Regions from separate parts of the Homo sapiens genome. Here region 1 is linked to region 2. The links are contacts of gene promoters, found by promoter capture Hi-C in human tissues and cell types (Jung and others, 2019). All regions are on one chromosome and are shown on one strand. The core of a region is centred on a gene start or on the middle of the fragment in contact, and the rest is flanking DNA. Distances in the headings are between cores, read along the strand shown. Region 1 has its middle 18 kb from the start of GPR142. Region 2 holds the start of CD300C (CD300c molecule).

What was found. Contacts are between HindIII fragments. The study calls those that stand out against the background at their distance.
Region 1: a contact is called between a fragment that was not itself captured here and the fragment with the promoter of CD300C in region 2, in 1 of the 25 tissues and cell types used here (thymus).

Annotation. Positions count from the first base shown.
Region 1 is chr17:74,382,921-74,387,476 of GRCh38, reverse strand. No RefSeq gene overlaps it. Among named protein-coding and RNA genes, the nearest start is that of GPR142, 18 kb to the right of the region's middle. RefSeq lists an enhancer at 1-711. The HindIII fragment of the contact is 6,667 bases long and covers 1-4,556 here.
Region 2 is chr17:74,544,658-74,548,763 of GRCh38, reverse strand. CD300C (CD300c molecule) reads left to right here and starts at 2,649. Exons shown (of 4, transcript NM_006678.5): 1 at 2,649-3,042; 2 at 3,817-4,106. The coding sequence starts at 2,982. The HindIII fragment of the contact is 17,316 bases long and covers 1-3,905 here.

The DNA of each region.
Region 1 (4,556 bases), core at 449-2,948, 160 kb after region 2:
AGAAACTGGGGCTTAGGGAGGGGCCTAGGGCCATGAGGCCAGTCCGGGACATGGTGGGACAGGCAGCCTGGACACCTGGCCCCCCAGGTCCACCTGACCTCCCCAGCCACCGCTGTTTCCCTGGGGTACCGTTCTTACACCATAAATCCCTTTCACTGTGTAGCCCTATAATATGGTCAAGGGAGTAACTCTGGGGACAGGGATGGAGTCCATGGGACGGGCTTAGAATTCTGCCTTCCGTAGTGCCTGAGGCTCCTGACCCTCCCCACCTGGTTGGATCCCCAGGCGGCTCCTGGGAGGAAGTGCCCTTCCCCACCATTGACTGCCCCTCCTCTCAGTGAGATCCGACAGCCGTCCCCAGTATGTTAATTATAACAATGTAACCCCGTGGGGTGCAGGCTCCCCCGACTCTCACCCTTCCAAACCAACGCCAGGTCCCTCCTGGCCAAGCTGGCCCAGACCCACAAGTCTCTCAGCCAGTGGTTCCAGGCTCCAACCAAGGACCTGGGATTCTTGCAGGATGCCAGAGAAGAGGTGGCCAAGAGAACCCAGCGGCGTCGTTCTCATTACAGGGGCCTCCTCAGCGAAGACCCCTCACTCTCTTCTGGCTTTCCTCTCTGGTTTCCTCACTGACGTCATAAAAATTTGTATTCATTCATTCAATAAATACTTATTGAGAACATGCCCAAAGTACTGGGGTAATTAAGAGTGGGAGACAAGGAGGCAAAAATGAGTCAGCTGTGAACTTTGCCTGCGGAAGGCTGAGACCGGCAGATTCCTGTCCAGGTTCTGAAACTTACTAGTTCTGTGACCTTAGCTACGTCAGCTCACTTTTCTGATTCCCAGTTTACTTGTCTGAAAAACTAGGATGATAATCACAGATTGCTGGTGAGAGACTGACTCTACAAATGGCCAGCGGCCAGACCAGACATAAAAATAGATCTCTGACCCACAATCTGCAGCAACCAGCCCAGGAAGCCCCGCCATCCTCTACAACGACCAGCCCAGGAAGCCAGCCTGCTGTCTGCTAGCTACAAGTCATACTTGCGGAAGTCAGGCGATCAGTTCTAATGACTGGTCCAAGAAGTCAACCAATTGACTCCACTTGGCCAGGACTTGATTTGTAATCGACAGTTTCCCTAATTCTCATCCCTGCTTCCAATTTATCCCCATTTCCAAGAAAAAGCCAAATATGGGCTGGATGCAGGGGCTCACACCTATGATCCCAGCACTTTGGGAGGCTAATGCGGGTGGATCTCTTGAGCCCAGGAATTTGAGACCAGCCTGGGCAATGTAGTGAGACCCCATCTCTACAAAAAATATAAAAATTAGCCAGGTGTGGTGGCACACACCTGTAGTCCCAGCTACCTGGGAGGCCGAGGTGGGAGGATTGCTTGAGCCCATGAAGTTGAGGCTGCAGCGAGCCCAGATGGCACCACTGCACTCCAGCCTGGGCAACAGAGTGAGACACTGTCTCAAAAAAAAAAAAAAAAAAGTAAAGCCAAGTATGCCCCTCTAACCAATCCCATAGGATGCCCTGTCCTCTTCTAGTGAGCTGCTTCCAGCTTCCTAGGCCCACAGCCTCCATCAAGGTAAACCTGAAGCTTCCCTTTCCTTTCCCCCTCCCCTCCCCTCCCCTCCTTTCCTTCTTCCTTTTTTTCTGTTCTTTTCTTTCTCTCTTTCTCTCTTTCTTTCTTTCTTTCTTTCTTTCTTTCTTTCTTTCTTTCTTTCTTTCTTTTCCTTCTTTCCTTCTTTCTTCCTTTCTTTCTCTCTTTCTTTCTTTCCTTTCTTCTCTCTCTTTTTTCTTTCTTCTCCTTCTTCTTCTTTTTTTTCAGGGTCTCATTCTCACCCATGCTGGCATTCAGAGGCACGATCACAGCTCACTGCATCCTTGACCTCCCGGCTCAGGTGATCCTCCCACCTCAAGCCTCCCAAGTAGGTAGGACTACAGGTGCATGCCACCACACTCTGCTAATTTTTTGTATTTTTTGTAGGGATGGGGTTTTGCCATGTTGCCCAGGCTGGTCTTGAACTCTTAGGCTCAAGTGAGCCCCCTGCCTCGGCCTCCCAAAGTGCTGGGATAACAGGTGGGAGCCCCCATGCCTGGCTGAGTCACACAAAAACAAACAAAAACTTACCTTCCTTTTGTTCCCAAATAGCCAGCTGTCATCTCACATGCTTACTTTATCTTACGTAAAACATATATTTATTAAGCACACCTCTTTTCCTGTGTAAAATGTGGATTCAGTGAGTACTAATCAAAGCCTCACAGGAACATAACAACTTCCCTCATTGCCTGCTCTCCCTCCCTTTTCCTTTTCCTTCCCCTGCTGCCTGCTCTCCCTCCCTTTGTCCTTTCTTCCTTCCCTTCCTTCCTGCTCTTCCCTCTTTAAATTTTTTTTTTTTTTTTGAGACGGAGTCTTGCTCTTGTCGCCCAGGCTGGAGTGCAGTATCGTGATCTCGGCTCACTGCAACCTCTGCCTCCTGGATTCAAGAGATTCTCCTGCCTCAGCCTCCCAAGTAGCTGGGATTACAGGTGCCTGCCACCACGCCTAGCTAATTTTTGTATTTTTAGTAGAGACGGAGTTTCGTCATGTTGGCCAGCCGGGTCTCAAACTCCTGACCTCAGGTGATCCTCCTGCCTCAGCCTCCCAAAGTGCTGGGATTATAGGCATGAGCCACCGCGGCCAGCCCCCTCTTTAAATGTTGAAGTCCTCAAATCTCCTGGGAAAAAGCACAGGCCACAGATCCTACTGCAACTCGTGTTTCTCTTCCTCTGGCGCGTCCTCGACCTTGGCAAATAATCCTCTGAATCGATGGAGTTCTGTCACAGATACTTTTTGGCTTACGCCACCCGAGAGCTTCCCTACCCCGCCCGCCTTTGAGTCCCTCTCAAACACAGGTGGTGGTGGCTGCCCCCTTGTTACCCAGCAAGCCCTGAATCATGGCCTTTGCGCCTTCTCATTCATGTTCTCTGTTTATTTCCACGTTGGAGTAGAGGAGTGAGGGAGTGTGGAAGAGCTGGTGAGAGTCCAGAACTCCAGAAATATGAGGTGGAAAGTCCACGGGCAGGAGAGCAGCTGGAGACTCCACATCACCGTGGGAGCTTCCTCCAGGCCACTGAGCCGAGCTCTGGCGTGGACACTGGTGTGGAGCAGCCTCCTCACATGCAGCCACTCGAGCCCTGTAAGGACAGGACCCTGCGCCCCTTGGCATCAGAAGAAGGGCAAAGGGAGTCTGGGCGCGGTGGCTCATGCTTGTAATTCTAGCACTTTGAGAGGCCGAGGCGGGCAGATCACTTGAGGTCAGGAGTTCGAGACCAGCCTGGCTAACATGGTGAAATCCCATCTTTACTAAAAATAGAAAAAATTAGCCAGGTGTGGTGGTGGGCACCTGTAGTCCCAGCTACTCGGGAGGCTGAGGCAGGAGATTCGCTTGAACCCAGGAGGCGGAGGTTGCAGGGAGCACTCCACAGCACTCCAGCCTGGGCGACAGAGCGAGACTCAGCCTCAAATAAATAAATAAATAAATAGGCCAGGTGCAGTGGCTCACGCCTGTAATCCCAGCACTTTGGGAGGCCAAGGTGGGAGGATCACCAGAGGTCAGGAGTTTGAGATCAGCCTGGCCAACATGGCGAAACCCTGTCTCTACTAAAAATACAAAAATTAGCTGGGCGTGGTGGTGGGCGCCTGTAGTCCCAGCTACATGGAGGCTGAGGCAGGAGAATTGCTTGAACCCAGGAAGCAGAGGTTGCAGTGAGCCGAGATTGTGCCACTGCACTCCAGTCTGGGAGACAGAGCAAGATTCTGTCTTAAAAAAAAAAAAAAAAGAAAGAAAGAAGTGGGGCAAGGGGGCCCAAGCAAGAAGAGCCTCAGAGGGTGGGGCCAGGCTACCAGGCCGGCCAGGGCAGTGCCTCTCTGTCCATCTCAATCACCCTTCCCTTCCGACCACCTCTGGGTACATGTCCAGAGCCCAGAGGGATACCTCTGAAACTCTGGACCCAGGGCTAAGCCCCCATGGACACAGGATGCTCACGGGGAGGGGTAGCTGAAGCCCCCATTCTCAAATCTCCTAGGGGATTATGTCATGACAGAGTGGAGCGCTGCTGCTTCTCTCTCTAAGCCTCTTGCACAATCCTCCTTCTTGCTAGAAGTGTTCCAGGGACCACAGAGGGTGTGAGCATTCCCTCCCTCTGCCCCCAGGTCTCCTCCAAACCCAGTGTACCCTGCAGAGGCTTCTGGTAGCCCTCCAGCTGCTCCCTGGCCTCCCTGTCTCTCGCCTGGGCTATCCCTCTGGCCTCCTAAGGGGTCTCCGGCCTCCTGATGTTTCAGTTCATCCTCCCTAATACCACCAGCAGGATCTTTCTAGAACATACCCTTAAGAACCATCAGGAGCTCAGTGTGCTGTATGAAGACCTTCAGTGTCAGTACCAGCCCATCATTCCAACGTTATCTTCCATCACCCCCTTTCTACCCACTAGGTCCCGGCCACACCAAACTACTCATCGTTTTTATCTAACTCCCAGCATTAGAGTTAAGGGGTATGTGCTCCTGTGT
Region 2 (4,106 bases), core at 1,400-3,899:
CTGACAATTCCGTTCCTTATGTAGACACATCCTGGCCAGTGTCTTCTGGTCCCTGCGGGAGGGCTGGTAGAAGATTATCAGTGTGAGTTGTGGCATGGTAGCCAGGCCTTTCCTTCCTCCTTCCTCAAGGGGACCTGACCTCCCCTTCATTCCAGGGCTGTGGCTTTTAACTGACTCAAATATGGAAATTGGTTGAGGGCCGTGACTTCTTAATGTGGTAGTTAACTGAGTCTTTTGCTTACTAGTGCAGACCATGTCTGCTTATCCAGACAAAGGAAGACGTTATCAGCTGACCATCGTTTCGGTTCCAGGGATGCCACACCCAAGACCCCTGTGAGGCAGATGATCCCCATGAGTCCACCAGGTCAAGGAGGGACACGCCTGGGGGTCCTCACCTATTTTTACATTCAGCAGATACTTATGGGAGCTTCTGGTGTATCAGACACTGACCTGGCATTGGAGTCCAGCCGTGAACACCCAGGCAAGGAGCTCTGTTTTCATTGAGCTCATATTCCAGGCGGGGGATAGAAATGATAAACAGATGCAAAAATACGTGCATAAATTCCAGAAGAAATATAAAAGTCAGAGATGAAAAGAGTCACGGAATGAAATAAGAGAAGTGGGGTGACTGCTGTGCAGGAGCTGAGGGGGACTGTGGTGAAGCCCCTCTAATAGGCGCTGAGCAAGCAGGGATCAGGAGAAAGGAGGGGGTGAGCGCCAGGATCCCTGGAGGAGGAGCCCTGAGGCAGAGAGAGGAGCAGGTGCACATGTCCTGCCAGGGGCAGATGCCTCCCTGGGTCAGGTGGCTTCAGGGCCTCCAGACAGCATTTCCTGTCTCCTCCCCAGCCTGGGCAGGAAATGGTGCACCAACTTTGGATGACTAAGTCCTCTGAGGCAGTGGGACATCAGGATGTCATGTATCCATTCACCCATTCATCCTTTCAACAGCCAGTTTGTTAAACTGCACTTGGCAGACTCTGGAATGATAACGGGCACAGCTGTGAATGAGACAAGAGGCTGCACCTGCTCTCAAGGGGCGGCCACCCTAGATGGGAGCAGACATTGACTCGCCAACAGAAAGACTGAGGAAGACGAGAGGGAAGTGTGAAATGGGTCATGAGGACCCCTAAAAAGCGAGCCACCATAACCCGGGAAGGTCAAGGAACACGCAGGCAACCCTGTCGGCTGGAGCCAGGCAGAGGAGTGGGAGGTTGAGGGTCTGGACAAAGGCCCGAGTGGGGAGGGTGGCAGCACCAGTGTGAACCTGGATCCAGGAGGCTGGAGACACCTACCAGGTGCTGGGGCCTGCCAGGACCTGTGTGCAGAGGCCAGGTCAGGTGGGTGCCATCCTGTGACAGCAGGAGCCATTGGGAGTTCAGCAGCGCCTCCCCAGGGCCATGTGTGTGTGTCAGGGATCACATTGCTGATTCTGTGGAGAATGAAAGGGGTGGGTATGAGCAGAAGGGGAGACCAGGTCAGCCCATGAAAGAGCCGGGATACTTCAAAGCCAGGCCCAGGCCAGACCTGAGCACTGGGCTAATTGGAGGCCCTGGGATTGCACTGGGCTAGAGATAGTCCCATGATGTGAGTCTGGGGGCATCAACACCAATGACCCCAGTGCATGCTGTGTCCCTGAGAGTGTAAATGGAGGGAGGACAGGGCAGGTCGAGGGTGCAGAGACCCCTTCATGGTGCCAGGTTTGCCCAGACTCCCATCACTCTCCACTCAACCTCATGGCTGTGTGCACATACTGGTGCTATTGACTCTGATAGGAAGAAAGGAACAGAAATCTGTAGGAGGGTTGGGAGAGTCAAGGAATATGCTTAAGGCATGAGAAGGTGGAGAAGGGGTGATGCCCTCCAGGACAGACAGGAGGTAAATCCTGTGTCTGACTAGCCTCCTTGCCCTTTCCAGGGTAAAGACACCCTGAGCCCATCACGTCAGGAGAACCAGCCATGCCGAGTGTGGATAGACCTGGGTTCCCGCCTCCTGGGAAGGCCTGTCTGCCATGTCTGCTCCCTGCGGAGGCCCCTGGCCATCACAGTGGACCCAGGATAGACACCAGCAGCCGCTGCTCATGACAAACTGTCCTCTCAGTCACCAAACACCCCTCCGTGTGCCCTGGGGTGTGTGCTGGCTCAGTCGCAGCCTCACATCCTCCACAAAGTCCCACTTCAGCATCTTCACATGTCTGAACTCTCTCTCTATTCTCAGTTCTCTGCCCTGATTCCCACTGGGGCATGGATTTTGGCAAGAAGACAAGATGGAAAAGGAGGGTCTCGGGTGGGTGATGCCGCTGTGTGTGTAGGTCTGGGGGCAGGGGCACAAGAGGAAAACTCCCCAAGCCTGTGGGATTTTAACCTGGTTGGGGACTCAGCACCAAAAAGGGACATGCAGATGGTGTCTGGGTTCATAGCGCTAACTTCTGAGGCCAGAAGAAGAGCTGGGGGTCTTAGGGGCAGAGGTCTCTGCGGGGACCTAGCTGAAGATTAAGGGACACAACCTCTCTCTGGTCACCTCCAAGGCTAAAGAAGGTGGCAGATTTAGCCTCCAACCACAAGATTGTCCATCCTGACCAGGAAGTGACATGTCACAGAGGGTGGAGCAGCCCATGTGGTAGGAAATGGCCCAGCTTGGCTCTGCCTTCTGCAGTGTGAGTAACACACTGAAGCCAGAAGCTGTGGGCTGTGGGGAAGTGGCTGCATCGCCACCCAAGGGACCCTGGACTTTGCCAGACGTCAGGGTTGAGAGGAGCCACTAGCACCATCCCAGAGCTGTCAGCACCGGCCTCAGCCCAGGCGGCTCTCTCCCTGAGCTTCCTGTACCCTGACCCTCTCCAGCCTCAGACCTGAGACAGGGCTGGACAAGGAAGCAGAGAGCAGAAGAAAAGCAGAAGCGAAGCTCAGATCTGCTGGGAGGAGATTACATTTTGTCCCCTCCTGGGGTCTTGCACAGTGGCAGGTGACATTCGTGTTACAGGAATGACTGCCAGGGCCTGGGCCTCGTGGCGGTCTTCAGCTCTGCTCCTCCTGCTTGTCCCAGGTGAGTGGGCCGACCCTGGACTTGGGGAGCTCTGTCCTGAGTGGGAGAGGGCAGGGAGGGGTGCAGGCGCTGGAGTAGCGGTCATAGAGGGGAGTGGGGCAGGGAGAGGGGAGGAGGGCAAAGGAGCACCCAGGAGCGGTCAGCAGCTGCCTCACCAGGGGACAGCAGGCGGCAGGGCACAGCACGGGGGAGGCCTATTCCTCTGTGCCCGAGACAGGAAGCCCTGGTGGGAGGTGATGCTGTGACTGTCATTGCCAAAGTTATCCAATCACAAATTTTATCTGGGACGATCACACACACAGTCACACTCACACGCACACACGGTCACACTCACACAGTCTCACACACATGCACACACAGTCACACTCACACAGTCTCACACACACATGCACACAGTCACACATGCACACACAGTCACACTCACATGCACACACAGTCACACATGCACACACAGTCACACACAGTCACACTCACACAGACAGTCACACTCACACAGTCACACACACAGAGTCACACTCACATGCACACACAGGCCCGCACACACCCAGTGTTTCCCTAGCCTTGCCTTTCCAGTCTCCATGGAAACTTCCCATGCCCTTCCCACCTCTGCACAGAGGGAGCCTCCCACCCTCAGTCCCTGTTCCTGGGTGGACAAAGGCTGCCTGCCTGCCATTGCCTTCTCCACACGCCCAGGGTCCATGAGGGGCTGACACTGCGGCACCCCTGACCAGGCCCCTCTGGTAAGGAGACAGGATTTTGGCTTGTATTTTTCAGGCTATTTTCCTCTGAGCCACCCCATGACCGTGGCGGGCCCCGTGGGGGGATCCCTGAGTGTGCAGTGTCGCTATGAGAAGGAACACAGGACCCTCAACAAATTCTGGTGCAGACCACCACAGATTCTCCGATGTGACAAGATTGTGGAGACCAAAGGGTCAGCAGGGAAAAGGAATGGCCGAGTGTCCATCAGGGACAGTCCTGCAAACCTCAGCTTCACAGTGACCCTGGAGAATCTCACAGAGGAGGACGCAGGCACCTACTGGTGTGGGGTGGATACACCGTGGCTC